2 separate regions of the Homo sapiens genome follow, and region 2 is linked to region 1. Evidence: promoter capture Hi-C in human tissues and cell types (Jung and others, 2019). All regions are on one chromosome and are shown on one strand. The core of a region is centred on a gene start or on the middle of the fragment in contact, and the rest is flanking DNA. Distances in the headings are between cores, read along the strand shown.

Evidence for each region. The method cuts DNA at HindIII sites, captures the fragments that hold promoters and counts their contacts. A contact is called where the count stands out against the background at its distance.
Region 2: a fragment that was not itself captured here is called in contact with the fragment with the promoter of UBR4 in region 1 in 1 of the 25 tissues and cell types used here (pancreas).

What each region holds. Positions count from the first base shown.
Region 1 is chr1:19,206,914-19,212,175 of GRCh38, reverse strand. UBR4 (ubiquitin protein ligase E3 component n-recognin 4) reads left to right here and starts at 1,910. Exons shown (of 106, transcript NM_020765.3): 1 at 1,910-2,103. The coding sequence starts at 1,928. It overlaps EMC1-AS1 (EMC1 antisense RNA 1), which reads right to left and starts at 1,790. Exons shown (of 2, transcript NR_135114.1): 1 at 1,617-1,790. RefSeq lists silencers at 826-895, 1,921-2,240 and enhancers at 1,521-1,570, 1,821-1,870. The HindIII fragment of the contact is 7,870 bases long and covers 619-5,262 here.
Region 2 is chr1:19,006,160-19,011,097 of GRCh38, reverse strand. All of the region lies in intron 1 of LOC105376815 (a long non-coding RNA gene), which reads left to right. Among named protein-coding and RNA genes, the nearest start is that of IFFO2, 52 kb to the right of the region's middle. RefSeq lists enhancers at 1-441, 2,170-2,813. The HindIII fragment of the contact is 6,337 bases long and covers 1-4,938 here.

The DNA of each region.
Region 1 (5,262 bases), core at 661-3,160:
TTTCATCTAGAAGTCTTTTATTAGTCTCTTTTGTCATCTAAATTTATAACATAGATGCCATTCCAAATCTTTGTGGCAACACAAGACCAAACCTCCAGTACTGAAATAAATGTGGCATTTATAAAGGAAGTTCTTTATCTGGAGTGCTCTCTCCCAATCTATTAACCAGAAATATAAAGTATATAATAAATAATTTAGGTAAAGGTGAAAATCTCCCTGTGATAGTTTGCATTTGCCTTTTATTCTCCTGGAGAGGGAAGGGAGGACAGCAGATACATTTGATCTTTTATTTCCTGAAATTTCTCCAAGACAGCTTTTGCAGATTAATTTTGTCCTCTGGTTAAAATAAAATTCATGTCCCAAAGCCATTATAAAATTCTGGGTCTCCAGCCTTTCCTTAGGGCTCTGGTTCAGTATCTTGAAATACTGCAATATTTATAGTGTTATGGAAAGTTCTTTTTCATTTCTGATGTTTTTATGTTTAAGAAACTTGCTGTTATTATTATCCTCTGGTAAGTAGGCACTGAAGGAAAATCCCTACTGCTGTCATCAAAGCCACATTTTCCTCCAAGACCGGCTTTGACTTGACTGAATTTTATTTCGAATGTAAAGATGCAGGCTGGGCGCAGTGGGTCAAGCCTGTAATCCCAGCACTTTGGGAGTCCAAGGTGGGAGGAACCTAGGACTTCGAAAACAGCTTGGGCTACGTAGGGAGACCTGTCTCTTAAAAACAAACAAAAAAAATTAAGAGTGGTGGCCTGCACCTGTATAGTCTCAGCTACTGGGGAGGCTGAGGCTGGAAGATCACTTGAGCCAGGGAGGTGGAGGCTGCAGCCAGCTGCAACTCTGCCACTGCACTCCAGCCTGGGCTATTGGGCGACAGAGCAAGATCCTGTCTCAAAAAAGGTAAAGTAGGTCATATCTTAATAAAAGTGCAGATTAATCACTAGGTACCAATTCATTTATCAGTGTTACACACCAAGAACAAAAGCTCTTCCTAAACTTAGGGGGAGAATTTCAGGGCTTTAGGAATTTGAAACCGTCTTCACAGTTCCTTCCCAGTCTTATTTAGGCCAGCTGTAGGCCACAGGCTAGAGCTTGAAGCCGTCCACCAATATCTCACTCACAGGACTGTCCTTAATGCACGAATACCTTTCCTCGAGCAAACTGCTTTTCCCTCTTAGACCTTGTAGCCAGATCATTTTACCGGCAAAAGTCTCAGACATCTCCTGTGAATAAAAGCTTACATTCTTTCCTTGCCAGTAGAAAAAAGGGGAACACGTAAGCATACGTGGCAAATTGCAAAGAGGGATGCATTGTACGAGCTGGTCAGATTGTTAATGAGGGCAATCCAAACAGAAGAGATTTGAGTGCTAAGGGAATACGGATCAGTGATTAAAAGGTGTTGTGAGAGGGAGAAATCTTTGTAAACTATGGCGCTCTTTAGTATTACTATTGGGGGGATCTAGGCAGGGGAAGAAGCAGGTGAAAGCGTTTTAGGCTTCGGCCTCCTCTTGTCGTCCTTAGCTGTCCCAGGCCAGGGCCATTCTATACGCCGAGGCGTAGTCAACTCTGCTGCCCTAGACTTGCCCACTGAACCCATGCCCCAGACTCACCTTTACCCGCTGCCCGGAAGCCAAGTCGCTACCACCTGCTTGAGCAACTCCCACCGCGCAGGCTCAGAAGTTAACGCTCTCCCGCCTTTCCCCGCTGCGCTACCTTCTGAGCAGGCGCAGCGTCTCCGATCCGTTCCCTCGCCGCGGCTCGACCCCGGTGAGAGCAAAGGCCGCTCCGCGCGTCGCGTTTTTGACCCATGACGGCGGCGCGCAGTCTGACGCGACAGATTGCGTCACTTCCGCCCCCTCCTGGGAGGCGGCGCTGGGCCGGTGGCAAGCCCCCGGAGGGAGCCGCAGTAGTACGACGGAAGATGGCGACGAGCGGCGGCGAAGAGGCGGCGGCAGCGGCTCCGGCGCCGGGGACCCCGGCAACGGGGGCGGACACGACCCCGGGCTGGGAGGTGGCTGTGCGGCCCCTGCTGTCCGCGTCCTACTCCGCCTTCGAGATGAAGGAGTTGCCGCAGCTGGTGGCCTCAGTCATCGAGAGGTACCGGGCGGCGGCTCTGGCGGGCGACGCTGTTGTGGGGGGAGGGGATTTCGAGCCGGATCGTCTGGACCCGCTTTCCGGGCCGCCCCCTGCCCCCTTGAGGATCCCCGCCACAGCCACGGCTTCGGGGTCCCGGGCCCGGGGAGACTGGCTTGCCTGGGTTTCCCTCCGCCAACGCATGTAAATCACCTCTACCTCAGTTTCCCCTCTCGAGCAAAACTTTAGCGGCCTCCCTGCGGGAGGGCGTGGCCGGACATGGTTGAGAGTGAGATGCATTCGCCCTCTTAAGGGAATGTTCACGGGGCTGCCCCTTGGGTCAAGTCACAGATGAGTTTGCATTTCTCGCCCGCACTCATCCTCCTAGCCTGGGCCGGAGCGGAGCCGTACGGTATAATTTAATAACGGTCTCCCCGCGGTGCTGTAATCAGTGGGGGCACGTGCTATTTCTGTGACTGAAGCCACTAGCTACATTGATGACCTCTTTTTACGTTGCACTCCTTGTGCATTCCTACTGTATCGGTCTTTGATTAAAAACATTTCAGTGTGTGTCTGAGAGATCATTTTCCCAGAGGATGTGTGGTGTGTGTGTTCTCTTGCTGCCTCCCATCCCCCTCGCATTAAAATATCATCACATTCTTTTACAAACGGTACTATCTGTTGGTTTCCTTTTGTGTGTTTTTGTCTTTTTGCACAGCGATTCTTAGCTAGTGACAGTTATGTAGGTACAAAGATGGTGATCTCAGAGTGCCTGCCTTTTCCTGACATACTGTGCTCAGAGCAGTCTTTCATTAGTTTAATGGTAGACTTTTGCTTTTAAAGCCAGACTGACTTTCATTTTTCTAGCCATACCTCATTTCAGCAACTCCCTGCAATTGTTAACTGGGTCATTTTAGCTTCACGATGACAAGGGTATATCTAGCTGCTATCCAGAGGTTAAAAATTGCTATTTGTTACTCAAAGGAGGCCCACGGTTTGACAAATTGTTTTTGTGCTTTTTCTTGTTGTAGACTTGTAATCCTTTGGATGCAGAGTTTTTAACAAATTATAATAAAATAATGGTTGAGTTTGGTAACTTCACAGTCAGCTTTACAGACGGATTTTGCTATCTAATCATCAGGCCAGGAATGTTCTGAAGATGTAAACAGGTTTCAAATATACTACTTTCAAATTACGTGGCTGCTTTTTGTTTTAAACATTTGGATTGGCAGTATTTTTCCTGACTCATACTCATGTTACGTAGAATCAGTAACGTTCCAGTCTTTTTAGAGCATTTGCTTTTATGTTTTTCTGGACATGAGCTGGATAGGTTATAAAATATTAATAATTTGTTGACACCCTTCCATAAATCCTGTATTCTGGGGCCACCTTTAAAGCTGTAATACTTAAGGAACACCCTCCAACCAAATACATCACTAGGTTTGAATTTTGCCATGTATGTGGTAGTGGTCTTTGCCATACCCTCTGTTTGTACAAATAATCAAGAGTTGTATTTGTAGACATTAATAAGATCTCTCTTTATGGCTTAGAAAATAAGTCCAAACTGATGGGTCTTTGGTAACGCATTTATTGGAAGGCAAGATCTCTTTTTTTTTTTTTTTTTTTTTTTGAGATGGATTCTTGCTCTGTCACCCAGGCTGGAATGCAGTGGCGCCATCTCAGCTCACTGCAAGCTCCACCTCCCAGGTTCACACCATTCTCCTGCCTCAGCCTCCCAAGTAGCTGGGACTACAGGTGCCTGCCACCACGCCCAGCTAACTTTTTGTATTTTAAGTAGAGATGAGGTTTCACCATGTTAGCCAGAATGGTCTCCATATCCTGACCTTGTGATCCACCCGCCTTGGCCTCCCAAAGTGCTGGAATTACAGGCATGAGCTACCGTGCCCAGCCGGAAGGCAAGATCTTTTAAGTCTTCTGGTTTTTGGAGCTCAGTTAGCTTTGAAAGCCTATGTGTCCTCTGCAGGCTGTGTGAGAGGAGTATGATCTAAAGAAAAATTTCCAGAAGAAATACCTGGCTTACAAGTTCTTTACAGTGAGAACAGCTAAACGTATCAAGTGTTCAGTTTGTTATAAAGCAGGCGTTGGCAAACGTCCTGTAAATGGCCAGATAGTAGATAATTTTGGGACATGTGGTCTCTGTCTGGACTGTTTAACTCTGCCATCATTGTGTGAAAGCAGCCACACACCATATATAAATGAATGGGCATGGCTGTGTTTAAAATTATATCTATGGGCACTGAAATTTGAATTTCATGTAATATTTACATGTCACAAACTATTCTTTTGATTTTTTTTTTTTCAACCACTCTTAGCCATACAAAAACAGGTGACTTCCTGGATTTGGCCTGCAGGCCATAGTTTGCCAACCCCTAGCTTGGAGCACACAAATTATACCCTGCTATCATTATTCTGGTTTTCAAAAGTTTTATTTATTTATTTATTTTTTGGAGACAGAGTCTTGCTGTGTCACCCAGGCTGGAGTGCAGTGGCACGATTTTACCTCACTGCAACCTACGCCTCCCAGGTTCAAGTGATTCTCGTGCCTCAGCCTCCCAAGTAGCTGGGATTATAGATGTGCGCCACCAGACCCGGCTAATTTTTGTATTTGTAGTAGAGACGAGGTTTCACCATGCTGGTCAGGCTGGTCTTGAACTTCTGACCGCAGGTGATCCGCCCGCCTTGGCCTTCCAAAGTGCTGGGATTACAGGCGTGAGCCACTGCACCCAGCCCAAAGGTTTTATTTATTTGTCTTTCTAAAAAGTAAAGGTCTCAGAATTGTGGGAGTATGTCTTGCATAGGAAGCTATAGTACCAGATGAAAGCCAACACTGTAGATGCTGAGGTGGGCCTTGTTGTCTAGCTAATCAGAGGTTGAGATGTCTAGGCTGCCACTTTAGTTCTGTGTTGCCACTCCCATCTTCTGCAGTTTCCTGGTTTTTTTCTCTTGTTAAACCTGCCATGTTTTTCTTCCTTGTCACCGGGGACCATCTGTTTTTCTGTTGCAGTCTACTACTCTCTGCTTCCTTTTTTGATATCCTGGCTCCATCATGCCAACTCTTACTTTCGACCTGGTAGCCTGCTTAGCCATTGTATTTATCTCTTGACCATTGAGAATGATGACGTGCTTGAGACTCCTCAGTACACCACATTCTACCTTCTTTTA
Region 2 (4,938 bases), core at 1,578-4,077, 200 kb after region 1:
TGGTTGAACACAGGCTGCAGGGCGCCCAGCCTCGGCTGGACGCGGGCTCTGGTGGCTGCGTGTCTGGAGCCCTTGCCATCTCCTCCTGGTGTGTGCCTCCTCTATGCGGTGCCCGTCTCTCCAGCCATCCCCAGCCTGTACTTATAAACGGGTTGCGTTAATAGCACCCACCCAATTTCAGTGGATCTGGTTGCCAGATGCTCTCCTACATGTCTGGCTTCTGCAAAACCTTACCTGGTTAGGTCTGAGAGTCGAGTGTGTCCTGAGTGCTCACAAACCCCAGCCACAACCACCACCGACCCCTGCCCACTCCTCCTTTCTTTTGGCCACCCCTCTCCTCTTCTATGCTGTTTGCCCTTCAGGTCACTAAACAGGTCTGGCCACTGTGGCCGGTGTCCTCTGTGGAAATGTGGAGATTCATGCCAAGAGACTGTTTACTGAAGCTCCCCTCCCTCCCTGGGGCCATGGAGGTGTGTTCTCTGCAGATTTGGGGCAAATATTCCTCCCTGGGCAGCACTGCCCAGCCCCTGCCTGGGTCTCCCAAGAGCCACCTCTTCATGTGGCACACACCGGGCCCAATCCCATTTCCCTCCTCTCCTTCCAAGTGACCCCTGTCCCTGCGAGCTGCTCATACAAATGGATGCTCGTGTGCTGCCCAGTCCCGCTGGCTGACCCATCAGACAGTCCTGGGCCATGTTTTGATTGCTGGCAGTGAGAGATACAGAAGGCCCAGCCACTTCCATGCACCCTGAATGCTCCTTACAAACACCTTGGGAGGTCCGATTATTACCCGCCCCTCTCAGAGATGGAGAAGCTGAGGCTCAGACAGGCAAAGGAATCTGCCAAGGTCTCACATCCAGAACAGGCAGGGCATCACTGATCCCACTCTCCTGCCCCAGTCACCACGGTGTGATGCATTTGCCTGTGAGCCCAGCCTGCAGCGGAGGTTCACATGTGGGGTCAGAAAGGAGAGCCCTGTGACAAGAACGCTAGGAATGCAGGAAGGGGCCTTGAGGTGACCTCAGGAATTCTTGGCGCCCGCCAGGACAAATGATGGGAATAGCTGGGAGGGTGACATCCCACCTTGGTAGCCAGTCGTCACCAGCAGCATGCATTTGTGCTCCATCAGGGCTGGAGAATGACTAAGCTGAGGGCTGAGGGTTAGGAAGAAAAAGAAAGCATGGATGTGGCCCAAGGCCACAAGCTCTCTCAGGGGAGAGAAAGGACAGGTGTGAGCTAAGCAGTGACCCCGCAGTCCCCTGAGAGCCAGTGCCTGCTGCCGAGCGAGGGCACTATATGTCGTCACCTGGTGTCCATTCCCCAGGTTGGGGAGCAGACTTCCAGCTTTGCGCCCCATTTCAGCTGTTTCCCAGCTGTGGACCTTGGGCAAGTCACCTCCCCTTCCTGCGCCTCGGAGTCTCATCTGTAAAACGAGAATGTGAGATCCCCTACTTCATAAGGGAGTGGGGAAGATGAAATGAGACAGAGTCGTACGGGACTTGGCACATTGTGGGTGTTCAGTAAATGCAGGTTTCTCTCCTTTCACCACATGGATAGCAGCGTCAATTTCCATCTGCTTTGAAGAGAGACAAACCCAAGTTTGAATCCCACCTCTACCATTTCCTGGCTGTTTAATCTTGAGAAGCTATCTCCCCTCCCTGAACCCCAGCTTCATCTGTAGCGATGTGAATAACGCCAGCACACTTTAGGTCTTGTAGCAAGGCTCACCTAAGACAGTATGTCACGATTTCTAACAGTTTTCAGGCTCTCAGCCCAGGGTCCCGGGGTCTGGGGGGGACGGAGTTGTTCCATTTCCAACAAGCTCTTGGTGATGCTGGTACTGTGGATCTGGGGACCACACTTTGAGTCAAGTGGTGACGGAGGAAGGCCAGTGGGAGGGTGGGGGGGGGTGGAACAGAGGCAGCAGCTGGGAGACTTTTAGGTGGGCCATTGCCTTCAGGATGCCACCTGACTGAATTGGAGCTCAAGAGTATTTGGCAATGAATTAATTAATCTACTTATTTGTTTGTGCAACAAATAGATATTAAGTATCTTTTGCCATTACTTTTAATGCAAAACTAATTGCATGAATTACAATGAAAAGTAATGGCTGGCTGGGTGCAGGGGCTCACGCCTGTAATCCCAGCACTTTGGGAGGCTGAGGTGGGTTGATCATGAGGTCAGGAGTTCGAGACCAGCCTGACCAATATGGTGAAACCCTATCTCTACTAAAATACAAAAATTAGCCAGGCGTGGTGGTGCGCATCTGTAATCCCAGCTACTCAGGAGGCTGAGGCAGGAGAATCGCTTGAACCCGGGAGGCAGAGGTTGCAGTGAGCCAAGATTGTGCCATTGCACTCCAGCCTGGGCAATAGAGTGAGACTTTGTCTAAAAAAAAAAAAAAAAAGTAATGGCAAAAACTACTTAATGTTTTCGTTTTTGCCATGACTTTTAATGCAATTAATGCAATTACTTTTGCACCAACCTAATATATCAGTGCTGGGGTAGGGAGTCAGTTCCTGTCCTCTTGGGGTCTTAGTGCAGAAGGGGTCAGGAGGTGCTTTTTACACCCCAATCCCCACGAACTGTGGTTGCCCCAGCAGAGGCCACCATGAGTTCTAAGACAGGGCACTCACCCCAGCCTGAAGGTCAGGGGAGGCCAAGCTTGAGGTCCTAGGACGAGGACAAATCACCCTGTGGAGGAGGGTGGGAGAGGTGTCCGGGCAGGAGAGGTGTCTGGGCAGGTGTGGTGTGGTAAGCAAGTCACAGAGACACGCAGCCAAGACAGAGTCTATGTCTCCACCATTGTTTGACAGTCTCGTGAGGAGGCTTGGGAGGCAGGGAGAGTTGGAGTCACTGCTGTGCCCTGGCCGCCCTGTGTCACCGACATGCTATGTGACTTCTCTAAGGGACATCCCCTCCGCTTCTGTAAGGTAGAGGTGAGGATGCCTGTCTGAGTGCTTTAGGGAGGAGAAGGTTGAAAGAGACCACAGCAGTCAGGAGTCTGGCTCCTAGCAGGAGGTCAGCTACTCTCAAATCCCCTCGTGACGACAGGGAAATCCACTGTCCAAGTGTGGGGTCCTCATCTCCCTGTGGCCTCCATGGGTGGGCAGGGGTCCCCTGCCCTGTGGTGCTCACCATGCCTCCTCGACCCCGATCAGGTTGTCAGATGAGGAGGGAGAGCATGCCAGGGTCCCAGGGAGACTGGTTTGGTCAGAGCCTCAGCCCCTAAACCCCTTGTCACAGCCTGGCAAGAGACCAGAGACCTGGCTGAGATAACAGGGTTATTGCCACAAACAGACTCCTCCAGATAAAGAGGGAAGAATAAGAACCTTGTTTGTCCTCTCCTGGCCTGACACCCAGTAGCATTCTACCTCCCAGATGGCTGGGCTGCTGTGACCCAGGGCTGACCTGACTTCAGAACTGCCTCTTGGTGCCCACCCTCCTCTGGCCCACTTCCCACTCCCCACTCCTGACCCCACCTGCTTATCTGTTTATTTTTCCCATGAGAGTTTATGTATTTTCCCAGAGGGTGCAGTGTGGTGTAGGAGAAAGGGCATGGAAATCCACAGGAGGTCTGAGCTTGGATCTCTGGGATCCAGTCCTCTGGGTGGGCTGCTTACCTCGGGGGTGACCCACTGTCCTGGTTTGCCTGGGACTAAAGGGGTTCCTGAGACATGGGACTTCCAGTTTTAGAACTGGGACAGTGCCAAGAAACTGGGGATGTGTTGATCGCTCTGTTTACCTCTCTGAACCTCAATTTGCTCATATCTAAAACCAGGATAGTTACTATCTGTCGGAGGACGAAATGGGATAATGCAGGGAAGCATCTAGCACATGGTGAGTCCTCAGTGATGGTTTTGGTTATTTATTTCCCTGCCTGGAGGAAATTGCAGGGCCTTGACCTTGCATTTCTCACCTCCCTATTCCCAGGAACTTTTCTCAACAGTGCATTTGAGAACTCACTAAACCCATCTGTTGTACTTTGCCCCGAATGGCTTTCGATTGACAAAGTTCAAGCAATAGAGACAGCTTAGTAAAGGGAGACAGATGGAAAATCAGGAGACTGGGCCCACTCTTGACTCTGCCACTAACTTGCTGTGTGACCTTGGGGAAATTGCTTTGCCTCTCTGGGCCTCCATTTTTCCATCTACAAAATGGAAGATTGGACTGGATAGTGCTAAGTGTACCTTCCAGCTGTAACATGCAGTGATTCTGCAGTACTGATGCTCATTACCCTGTGAGCTGCAATGGGGGAGTTAGGAAGGGAGGGAGATCTGGTTGATCCTGGTACAGGGGTGAAGGGGGAGGAGGGACAAACTTCTGGTGCCTCCACAGGCAGCAACTAAAATATGAAAAATGGCATCAGATGGACAATGACAAGGGCAACTTAAAGACAGTGCAATTGGTTGATGTCTGCAAAGCAGCCCGGGACCAGGCCCCTGGGCATTCCTTTACTTAAATTATTCCTTTGCTCATTCATTTGTTCCCTCCTTCATTCCTATCTTTATTTGTTCATTCATTTATTCATTCATTCTTCTGCTGAGTGACATCGTAGCATAACGATGGATAGCATGGACTCTGAAGCCAGTTTGCCTGGGTTTGAAGCCCAGCTCTGCCATTTAGTTCTGTGACCCTGACAAGTACCTTGACTTCTCCGTGCCTCTGTTTCCTGATCTGTAATCAGTGTCTGGCATTTGGAAAGTGCTACATACATGTTTGCAATTATTGTTTGTTTATTCTTTCACCATTTGCTAGAAGATGGCTATGTGACAGGCACTGGGCTGGGTGGCCACCAGCGAATCAGGGGAAGTCACAAAGGGTTAAATAGGTAATTACTAAGTCATGTGGTCAGCGTTGTGGTGCGGGTAAGCACAGGGTGCTATGGAAATGCAGAGGAAGGGCACCTAACCTGGATGGGTTGGGCTAGAGAGGAGG